4 separate regions of the Homo sapiens genome follow, and all the other regions are linked to region 1. Evidence: promoter capture Hi-C in 16 types of primary human blood cells and fetal thymus (Javierre and others, 2016). All regions are on one chromosome and are shown on one strand. Each heading gives the region's core, a stretch centred on a gene start or on the middle of the fragment in contact. The rest is flanking DNA. Distances are from core to core; before and after follow the strand shown.

Region 1 (2,596 bases), core at 27-2,526:
GCTACTCAGGAGGCTGAGGCAGGAGAATGGTGTGAACCCAGGAGGCAGAGCTTACAGTGAGCGGAGATCATGCCACTGCACTCCAGCCTGGGTGACAGCAAGACTCCGTCTCAAAAAAAAAATTAAGATCAAATTCACATTAAAACTCACCATTTTAATCATTTTCGAAGGGAACAATGCACCGGCTTCCAATATATTCACAACGTTGTGCAACCATCACCACTGCCTAATTCAAGATCATTTCTTCCCCCCGCAAAGAAACGCCGTAATCATTAAGAACTCACTGGCCGTTTTCCCCGTCCTCCCCACAGACCCCGGCAACCTCTATGCCGTTTTCTGTCTCTACGGATTTACCTCTTTTGGACATTTTATATAAATGGCTGCATACAGTATGTAACCCCATCTTTCTTTAGATTATCTAAGACTGTTACAGTTAATGACCAGGATTAGGTAACGTTTCTTGAAATTAATTAGTTTTGTAGAAAGCTTCCTTTTCCCGACATTCTCTTCTCCCACCAGCTTGCTTAAGGAGCTATCATTCCCTCTCAAATTCCCAGTTAAGACATTCTCTTCAGAAAGCATGGTTGTTTATCCTCTAAGAATCATTCCACAGAGTCAGCACCATGTGTTACTCACCATATCCTTAATCTGAGAGAGCGTAATCTGCAGGGTCACATTCAGGACTTTATCTGTATCTTCCACTGGACGAAGAGCATTAGAATAATCTTCAAAAAGGTCATTAAACAACTTCTGAGCATATTTTCCATCTGCCGTCTCTGCAGCTACTCAACAAGAGGGATCTGGATTAACATTCAGAGTGTTGTGTGTATTTCAAGACAAACAACACAAGACTGAGGTCTAAAATGGGGGATGGCCCAACACTGGCGAGGGACAAGCTTTGGGTGGATGGATGAGTTGTTTTTCTGGCATGCCCTACCAAGATCAGAGTCAGTAGGAAGCACAGAACACTTCCATGCGGTTGAATCATCTGTTTTGTCTTCCCTGTCCTGCCCCACCTCCCACCAAAGCAATAGCCCCAGATGAGACAAGATAGGTTACGTGTCACCAGCCTCTCACCTCTCAGTCTGGAAGCAGCAAAGTAGATCCAGCAAAAGGAGATGCAGGAATGGGACCAGTTCATCTTTTTCCTGAGCCTCTATAATAAAGTCTCAGTCAGGCAGCGTGGTCTTCCACTTCCCCCTATGAATACAAAGGATCTGGGCACAAGGAGCCCACACCGCTGCAGCCTTATGGCGGGAGAGCTCAGGCTTGCATTGCATGCAGGACCGAGATCCTGAGATCCAGGCCTGCCCTCCCTCCCCTCCGGTAATTTGAGACTGGCAGCTCCAGTGGCTGAGAAGCCGGGAACCCAGGGTGTGTTAGGTCCAACAGTGCTGTTGTGGGGGGCCATCTCAGTTGAGGGTCCCTAGCCACCCTCAGCAGAAACAACCAGACAGAAAAGGAGGTAGATGCAGGCAACAGGGGTATGCCTGACACCCCAGAGACTCCATCTAAGCAGAATGGGAGATTTCTACACCCACCATGAGCAGAGTCAGCCTGAGTCCAGGGACTAAGGGAAGCCTAAAAGACTGAGCCATGGGACGGCTGTCCAGAAAGACTCTACGTGCTTTTAGCAGCATTTGAAGAGGGAAAGAGACACGGTTCTATGATCTCCAGAATATATTGGCATTTTGGTTTTTTCTCTGCCTCAGCTTCTGATCCCTCCTGCAGCTGTCCCACTGGGCATGGATCTTGCATAGTAAATGTTTGTGAGTATATATGTGAGGGGGTGTGCTGGATGGGCGGATAATCACTCGCTTAAGAAGCAGCAACACTGTGAGTTGGATTTGGACTTGACCACCTGGGTTTGACTGCCAGCCAAACCCTGACGAGCTCTATTATTCTGTAAAAGTCACCTAACCTCTCTGAGCCTTCCAGAACTACAGACTGGGGAAAATAATATTTTCTCTCTCTAGAGCTACTGAGATAACTGTATGTGAAAGCACTTTCTAAATATCAGTAATTATCATCTTTGATCAGCTTTGCATACCCAGAATTTCTATACTCACCAAGTCACCCAGGATTTACCAGCTCGAAAAAAAAAAAGAAAAACTGGTTCAAAGGCTGACCAAATCAGCATGAGAATAATAACCAATGGTGATATTGCTAATGATGACACCCTTTGCATTTGAATGCTACTTCATATAAAGTTTCAGTCATTTCTCATATGTGATATAATTTTACTCCTATAAAAAAATGTCAATTTTCAATTGCTGCTTAGTCTGGAAACTCATGTCTGTCTCTCCTCTTGCCTGGGGAAACTGCTTTGGAAAACCATATTAAGATAATTTGGTTGCCTGGAATTGGAGCGAGGAAATTGGATAGCTCTGTTTCATCAGGTTACAGCCGCCTGATGAGTCACCCCATCCCTCTTCGGGAATGTATCCTCTGAGTGGAACAGACACTCAAGCCATCGGCAAAGTGTTTCTTAATTGCCTATCCCATTGTGTTGATTGTGAAGACATTATTTTTCTGACGCCCCTAGTCTGACTCATTCATCAAATGACACAATTCCGGGTGCCCACGCTCAGTCCTC
Region 2 (2,596 bases), core at 31-2,530, 230 kb after region 1:
AAGTATAAGTAAATTGCACAAGATCATATAGCTAGTAACTGGTGAATCCAAGGGTGATCTTCATCACCAAATCATACTGCCTCCTTTGGTTTTAGTTATGTTGGCATTTTCAGATTCCTGAATTCTTAATCTTTAGTTCAAAAAAGAATATATAAAAATTTAACAATGTCTGAAGATGGCAAACCCAAGAATCACCTTTACAGTACACTTATCATAAAAGACTGAGGGCCAGGTGTGGTGGCTCATGTCTGTAATCCCAGCACTTCGGGAGGCTGAGATAGGTGGATCACAAAGTTAAGAGATCGAGACCATCCTGGCCAACATGGTGAAACCCTGTCTCTACTAAAAATACAAAAACTAGCTGGGCATGGTGGCATATGCCTGTAGTCCCAGCTACTCAGGAGGCTGAGGCAGGAGAATCGCTTAAACCCGGGAGGCAGACATTGCAGTGAGCCAAGATCACGCCACCGCACTCCAGCCTGGCAACAGAGCAGGACTCTGTCTCCAAAAAAAAAAAAAACTGAGGAAAATACAGTCCCTATATCTTAACAAGATTCTCCATAGAAAATTCAAACTATGCAAATAAACATTTAATGATAAAACTATCTTCACTGAATAGACAGTTACACTAGCAAGGAAACTAAATTTTTACCTATGATGTCCCCACAGATTCAGTTTAGAGAGTCGTTTTTATTCTCACACTATCTTCCATAAAAAGTAAACCAATTGCCAGGCGTAGTGGCTCATGCCTGTAATCCCAGCACTTTGGGAGGCCGAGGCAGGTGAATCACAAGGTCAGGTGTTCAAGACCAGCCTGGCCAACATGGTGAAATCCCGTCTCTACTAAAAATACAAAAATTAGCCAGGCATGGTGGCACGTGCCTGTAATCCCAGCTACTCAGGGGGAGGCTGAGGCAGGAGAATCGCTTGAACCTGGGAGGCAGAGGTTGCACTGAGCCGAGATCACGCCACTGCGCTCCAGCCTGGGCAACAAAGCAAGACTTCGTCTCAAAAAAAAAAGAGTAAACCAATCTAAGGAAAACCAGTGGTTAACTGGTCAAATTCCATTTCTGGTGGTTCAAATTCCATTTTAGAAAGCAGTAACCAGGCTGGGCATGGTGGCTCAAACCTGTAATCCCAGGACTTTCAGAGGCCGAGTTAGGCAGACCACTTCAGGCCAGGAGTTTGAGACAAGCCTGGCCCTGGCCAATGTGGCAAAACCCCGTCGCTACTAAAAATACAAAAATTAGCCAGGCATGGTATCACACACCTATAGTCCCAACTACTCAGGCTGGGAGGCTGAGGATGAGAATCCCTTGAACGTGGGAGGCGGAGGTTGCAGTGAGCCGAGATCACACCACTGCACTGCAGCCAGGGCAACAGAGCGAGATACTGTGTCAAAAAAAAAAAAAAAGATACATAGGAAACAACTGCAATTTCCTTACAGCTATTCTGAGACCCAAGCAGAAAATTAGATTTACTTCTCAAAAGATCCCTACTGATAACTTAAATATGCCACACAATATTCTAAGTACCTTACAAAAATTAACTCTTTGAATCCTTATAACCACCCTATGAAATAAACTCACCTCTTACTATGTAACATAAGAATTAATGTTAATGACAGTTAAAATTTTATATATACTATACAGTTATAGGCCACGCACGGTGGCTCACACCTGTAATCTCAGCACTTTGGGAGGCCAAGGCAGGCGGACCACCTAAGGTCAGGAGTTCGAGACCAGCCTGGCCAACACGGGGAAACCCCGTCTCTATAAAAAATACAAAAATTAGCCAGGTGCGGTGGCATGCACCTGTAATCCCAGCTACTCAGGAAGCTGAGGCAGAAGAATCACTTGAACCCAGGAGGCAGAGGTTGCAGTGAACCCAGATTGCACCACTGTACTACAGCCTGGGCGCAAAGTGAGACTCCATCTCGAAAAAAAAAAAATACTAAGCCAATTTAACTGGGCGCAGTGGCTCACTTCTGCAAACTCAGCACTTTGGGAGGCTAAGAGAGGCAGATTGCTTGAGCCCAGGAGTTCAAGACCAGGCTGGACAACAAAAAATACAAAAATTAGCCAGGCATGGTGGCACATCTGTGGTCCCAGCTACTTGGGAGGCTAAGGTGGGAGGATCACCTGAACCCAGAAGTCAAGGCTGCAGTGAGCCAAGATCATGCCACTGCACTCTAGCCTGTGCAACACAGCGAGACCCTGTCTCAAAAAACAAAAACAAACACACAAACAAATACTAAGTGAATTTTTTCTTTGTATTACTCATAACGTTACCCAGAATCTGATTATCTGTTCTTACCACGATTCTGGTTCCATTCATGTGCTTCTCCTAAGTACTTTACATCAAACTGGTACTGTCCATTTATATAAAAATAATCATCAGTACTAAGAATGACTCCACTTGGATTATCCTCTTGCAAAGTCCTGTGAAAGATAAATGAAATAATTTTCATTACCTTTTCTTCTAAATTTTCTCTCCTAATTTTTCCAAAGTCATAAACAAAATAAATTATTCAAGTACTATCATTTTGTGGATCACTTGAGGCCAGGAGTTCAAGGCCAGCCTGGCCAACATGGTG
Region 3 (2,596 bases), core at 42-2,541, 210 kb after region 1:
AAATAAAAATACCCAGGCATGGTAGTCCCTGTTACTCAGGAGGCTGAGGTGGGAGGATCACTTGAGCCCTGGAGGTCAAGGCTTCCATGAGCTGTGATCACGCCACTGTAGTCTAGTGTGGGCAACAGAGCCAAGACGATGTATCAAGAAAAAAAAAGGTAAAGAAAAAGAAAGATGCAGCTCAATCACCTATACAGTTAAATCTAAAACAACACAAACTTAACATGGATGGCTTATAGTTGAGTATTAACTAATTTCCCTGAAGCAAAAACCTCCAGCTTCAAATTATACTTAAAATATTTTTCAATTTTAACATTAAATTCAATCAGGTTAAATATGGATTCTAGACTAGAAAATACTTTGAAAAAATCACAAAGTAAACATACACAATAAACCAGAATCAGAGACAGTAGCTTAATATTTATATTAATTCATACCAAATTATGTTTTTCCTGTAAGGCAATTTCTTCTGACATTATTTCTCTGAGTGATACTTTTTTAGTTTGAGTATTCCAATGATCCAATAAAGGTAGCATTTCAGATGCTGTTAAAGTCTTCAGTAATTTTTTGCCTGTTCTCTGAGATGATTTTTGTTCAGGATTATCAAGCCCAGTATGTCCAACCAAGGAAGGATCTACAAAGTAGTATAAATACTGTCATACTCTCAACAATAAATGTATAAATTAAACATTATTCACTCTGTTATATTTACCTCAGAGACCAAGGAAACAGTTTTTTAATTTTCAGTTTGTAAATATAACACAACTCTGAAATTGTAAAATACATCTTCACGTCATCGCAAGTAAGAAATAGTATGTGTTAATGTAGCAATATTTTAAAAGAGTAATGATCTGTGTATAATTTTTTTTTTTTTTTTTTTTGAGACGGAGTCTTGCTCTGTCGCCCAGGCTGGAGTGCAATGGCGCAGTCTCGGCTCACTGCAACCTCCGCCTCCCAGGTTCAAGCAATTCTCCTGCCTCAGCCTCCGAAGTAGCTGGGATTACAGGCGCCCGCCACCATGCCTGGCTAGTTTTTGTATTTTTAGTAGAGACGGGGGTTTCACCATGTTGGCCAGGCTGGTCTTGAACTCCTGACCTCAGGTGATCCGCCCGCCTTGGCCTCCCAACGTGCTGGGATTACAGGCGTGAGCCACCGCACCCGGCCAGGCTGTGTATAATTTTAAACTGACTCAATGCTTCCCACTCTTTTTCATATCATATCAACCCAAAACATAGTGACATGTATACAGGACACTGGTAAATAGAGGAAGTTGTAGCCAGCTGGAAGTGAGCAACCATAACAGCTACAGTCTGCTCTGGCCACCCATTCTAAGGACCAAGAAGATCGATTACTTTGGCAAACCTGTAACTCAGTGAAGGCACACAATAAAGAGTGGGCAAATGATATTCAAAATAAGGAACTGAACATTCTAGGAAGTTCACAACAACAGAATTTAATGTGTAACATTTCAACTTCTCAGAGGAGTATCAACACATTCTGATACATTCCTCTGCTGTCCTAGAGAGTGAAGAAACAATAGACACTGGCATTTGCACACCATCCTTTGGGCACCTCTATCCCTACATCAGCTGTAGCTCTTGAGGCTATGACATGAGCACAGGTCTGGACCAAAGTGGATCCTAAGAATCTTCAAGGTGAAACTCCTTGCCTTGGTCCCAGTGTGGACTGGACAACAGAGGCATGTGGAGGAACTCAGGCACAAAAGGAGGATGCTTAATAACAGGTCTGCCACCCTGCAACAGTCACTGAAGACAACACTATCTAAGAGAAGTCATCTGGAATCAAATATTTTCAAGTTGGCAGGATGTACCAAAAAGCAGGCTGGGTTTTGTGGTCTAACAATACTGACATCAATAAAAACTTTGAATAACCAAGTAATATTTCAATGATGTTCTTGATCAAACACATGAACACTCTGTTGCTCTCAAACCAAAAGTTTTCTTTCATGCAGAGCAAAACCTCAACAGGAAATGCTTTGAGAGCATACCCTAGGTGTTCCACAGCACTCATGAAAGTTCAATATACATTATAGGGGCTTTTTCCCCCTTTAAGTTTTATTTTATTTCATATCAATAAAATATTAAATATTTTTAAAGAACTGGCTGGGCGCAGTGGCTCATGCCTGTAACCCCAGGACTTTGGGAGGCCAAGGTGGGCAGATCACCTGAGGTCAGGAGTTCAAGACCAGCCTGACCAATATGGTGAAACCCCGTCTCTACTAAAAATACAAAAATTAGCCAGGTGTGGTGGTGCGCACCTGTAGTCCCAGCTACTTGGGAGGCTGAGGCAGGAGAATTGCTTGAACCCAGGAGGCAGAGGTTGCAGTAAGGCAAAATGGCACCACTGCACTCTAGCCTGGGCGACAGAGCAAGACTCCATCTCTAAATAAAAAAATAAATAAATAAATAAATAAAACTTTTATTTGCAAATCAAAATTTGTGGGTACCGTATTTTGTGGAAGTAATTTAGAATGAGTTAAAATTCAAACACACACACCAAATTTCAACATTAAGACATTAGAAATAAAAACATGTGCTTTACCTTGCATAAACTTGCCACAAGACACCTCTTCTTG
Region 4 (2,596 bases), core at 54-2,553, 170 kb after region 1:
TCCTTTCAGCCCCTCCCAGTGACCCTATCTATCTCGTCTCTCCAGTCTTGACAAAGCAGCAGATTAAAACAGATTAATCCTTATAATTCTTTCTTCAACATGGGGCTGTGTTGAGTCAGATCCTATCCATGTGAAGAATGGAGACCACGCAAATAAAGAAAACATTTTTATTTCACCCAGACTTCCAGCAGACTGGCTTTCAATCTTCCTCTCTACTGCACTGCTTGTCACTTTTCTAGGTAATATGTACACAAAGTGGATGATCCAGAAATTTGGTATCAATTCTGTGACCTTCTCCACTCCGACTACCATCATCTCCATGCTCAGCCACAAATCAAACTCCCTTAGGAACAAATACCCACATCCTAATATTCTGAACTCTGAAGTTCTCAAGGTTCCTTCCTACAACCTCCTTCCACTTTCCCTCCCCCTCAAACTTTCTGAATCTGTTCTTTCCTCAACTATACCTTCACTGCTCACCTCCACTATTCCAGTCTATCAGCCCCCTCTGGATTCCACTTGACTCCTTACCAGCCTGTATCTCACAGTCAAGCTTTTCAACCTTACACATACAGCATCGTGAATTTTGTCTCCTTTCCTTCCCACACTGAACCCTTCCCATACCTATCCGCCAATCACTACCTCTGCTGAAACCAACTGATGTCTCTGTTTCTCCTCTCTGATTCCTGAGAATTGCTGGAGAAAAGTCACTTAACTGATAAAAGACCAGGTGCTTAGAACATAGACATCTCAGTCTGAAACCCGGCTCTGCTATTAATAGCCGGGAAAGATTTCGCAAATTCTATAATCTCTCTGAACATGTTTCCTAGTCTGTAAAAAGGGGTATATCAAATCATTAGGATGCTTCCAGGTGTAACACAAAACCCAAACAAAGGCAGCTTATTGTCTCTCATAACAAGGCCACTAAAGGTCAGTTCCAGGGTTAGTTAATTCAGGGGCTCAATGACATCATCAAGAACAGAGGGTTTTTCTTCTCTACACTCACCATCCTTAGCACATTGGCTTGGGCCTTAGGTTTGTCTCTTCATGGTTTCAACAAGGCAACTGCAATTCCAGACATCACATACAGACACAAAGTCTTGCTGAACAAGAATGCATTTCTTCCTATGTGTTTCTCTGTATTCGTGAGGAAAACCTTTCCCAGAACCAATCTAGCAGAATTCTTGTTGGTATGATCATATATCCATCCTCCAACTAATCACTGGCAAGGGGAAATGGCATTGCCATGATTGGCTTTTCCACCAATCAAAATTCACCTGCAGGAGCTACAGAGGGGTTGATCTTCCCTGAGCCCACTGCCACCAGATGCCTGAACAAAAAGAGCTGTAATAGAAAGAATAACTGTTGGGTAAGACAACAATGTCGGCCATGTGGGCAATAATACCTACCCCAGCGGGTGGTTATGATTATACTAGGTACATTTGCAAAGTACCCAGTGGTGCCTAGTTCATAGTAAACATAATGGCTTCCAAATACATACACAAATCCTTTGACATTGTATCCTTCAAAAGGTAGAGCTAATTCTCCTGTGCTTCAAAGTTAGCTGAATTTAATGGCTTGGTTCTAACAAACAATTTGGCAGATAACTGCAAAAAACTTCCAATACTAAGTCATAAAAGGTACTGCAGTTTCTGTTTTGCTCACTTGGATTACCTGTTCTGGAGAAACCAGCCACCATGTTGTAAGGACACTCAAGCAGCCTTTGGAGAGGCCCACATGGGGTCCTCTCCCCTTGGATTTTGAGAACTTCACACTTGAACTGAAAGATACCATCAGCTTCCCTGGCTCTGTGGCCTTCAGACTTGTACTTGGCCATGCTACTGGCTTCCCTAGTTCTCCTGCTTGCAGATGGCCTGGTGTGAACTTCTCAGCCTCCAAAATTACAGGAGCCAATTCTCCTGATAAATCCCCTATCTATCTCCTATTCATTCTGGAGAACCCTAATACATACACCAATAAGCTACATTAAATAATAATGTGTATTATTTGCCATTGAGTAAAACCAGTGCTCCTGAAATATATCCTAAGCTTATCCTGGACTTGGGGTACTCCCTGGCATACCTCTAAATATCCCAGTTGACATGCAATGCTTTTGTGACTAATATGTCAAGCCATTTTATTTCTATACCTGGTTGGACAAGTATCATCGGTGTAGCAAATATGAGCATTTGATACTCATCCTCCAGCTCTACTTCTTCTTCTTTTTTGAGACAGAGTCTCACTCTGTCACCCAGGCTGGAGTGCAGTGGCACTATCTTGGCTCACTGCAACCTCTACCTCCTGGTTTCAAGCATGTGCCACCACACCTGCTAATTTTTGTATTTTTAGTAGAGACAGGGTTTCACTATGTTGGCCAGGCTGGTTTTGAACTCCTGACCTCAAGTGATCTGCCTGCCTTCGCCCCCAGAAGTGTTGGGATTACAGGCATAAGCCACCACACCCAGCCCCAGCTCTACTTCTAATGAGCCTTTCCGTAAAGTTTAAAAGAACATTTCCCAGATCTTTGATGAAGGTAAAATTCTATATATATTAGAATACAATAGTTTCTACCAATTAGATACACTCCAGTGAGATT

Evidence for each region. The method cuts DNA at HindIII sites, captures the fragments that hold promoters and counts their contacts. A CHiCAGO score of 5 or more calls a contact.
Region 2: a contact is called between a fragment that was not itself captured here and the fragment with the promoter of CHRNA9 in region 1, in 4 of 17 cell types (naive CD4 T cells, total CD8 T cells, non-activated CD4 T cells and 1 more). The highest score is 5.9, in naive CD4 T cells.
Region 3: a contact is called between a fragment that was not itself captured here and the fragment with the promoter of CHRNA9 in region 1, in 9 of 17 cell types (naive CD8 T cells, total CD8 T cells, total CD4 T cells and 6 more). The highest score is 10.5, in naive CD8 T cells.
Region 4: a fragment that was not itself captured here is called in contact with the fragment with the promoter of CHRNA9 in region 1 in 12 of 17 cell types (total CD8 T cells, naive CD8 T cells, activated CD4 T cells and 9 more); the score reaches 11.1 in total CD8 T cells.

Annotation. Positions count from the first base shown.
Region 1 is chr4:40,334,013-40,336,608 of GRCh38, reverse strand. It overlaps CHRNA9 (cholinergic receptor nicotinic alpha 9 subunit), which reads right to left and starts at 1,276. Exons shown (of 5, transcript NM_017581.4): 1 at 1,078-1,276; 2 at 637-782. The coding sequence starts at 1,141. The HindIII fragment of the contact is 7,151 bases long and covers 899-2,596 here.
Region 2 is chr4:40,106,745-40,109,340 of GRCh38, reverse strand. N4BP2 (NEDD4 binding protein 2) reads right to left here. Exons shown (of 18, transcript NM_018177.6): 5 at 2,317-2,441. Among named protein-coding and RNA genes, the nearest start is that of N4BP2, 51 kb to the right of the region's middle. The HindIII fragment of the contact is 4,124 bases long and covers 1-2,596 here.
Region 3 is chr4:40,124,172-40,126,767 of GRCh38, reverse strand. N4BP2 (NEDD4 binding protein 2) reads right to left here. Exons shown (of 18, transcript NM_018177.6): 11 at 2,563-2,596; 12 at 438-634. Among named protein-coding and RNA genes, the nearest start is that of N4BP2, 69 kb to the right of the region's middle. The HindIII fragment of the contact is 5,124 bases long and covers 1-2,596 here.
Region 4 is chr4:40,162,091-40,164,686 of GRCh38, reverse strand. It overlaps a transcript of N4BP2 not described here. Among named protein-coding and RNA genes, the nearest start is that of RHOH, 34 kb to the left of the region's middle. The HindIII fragment of the contact is 1,496 bases long and covers 556-2,051 here.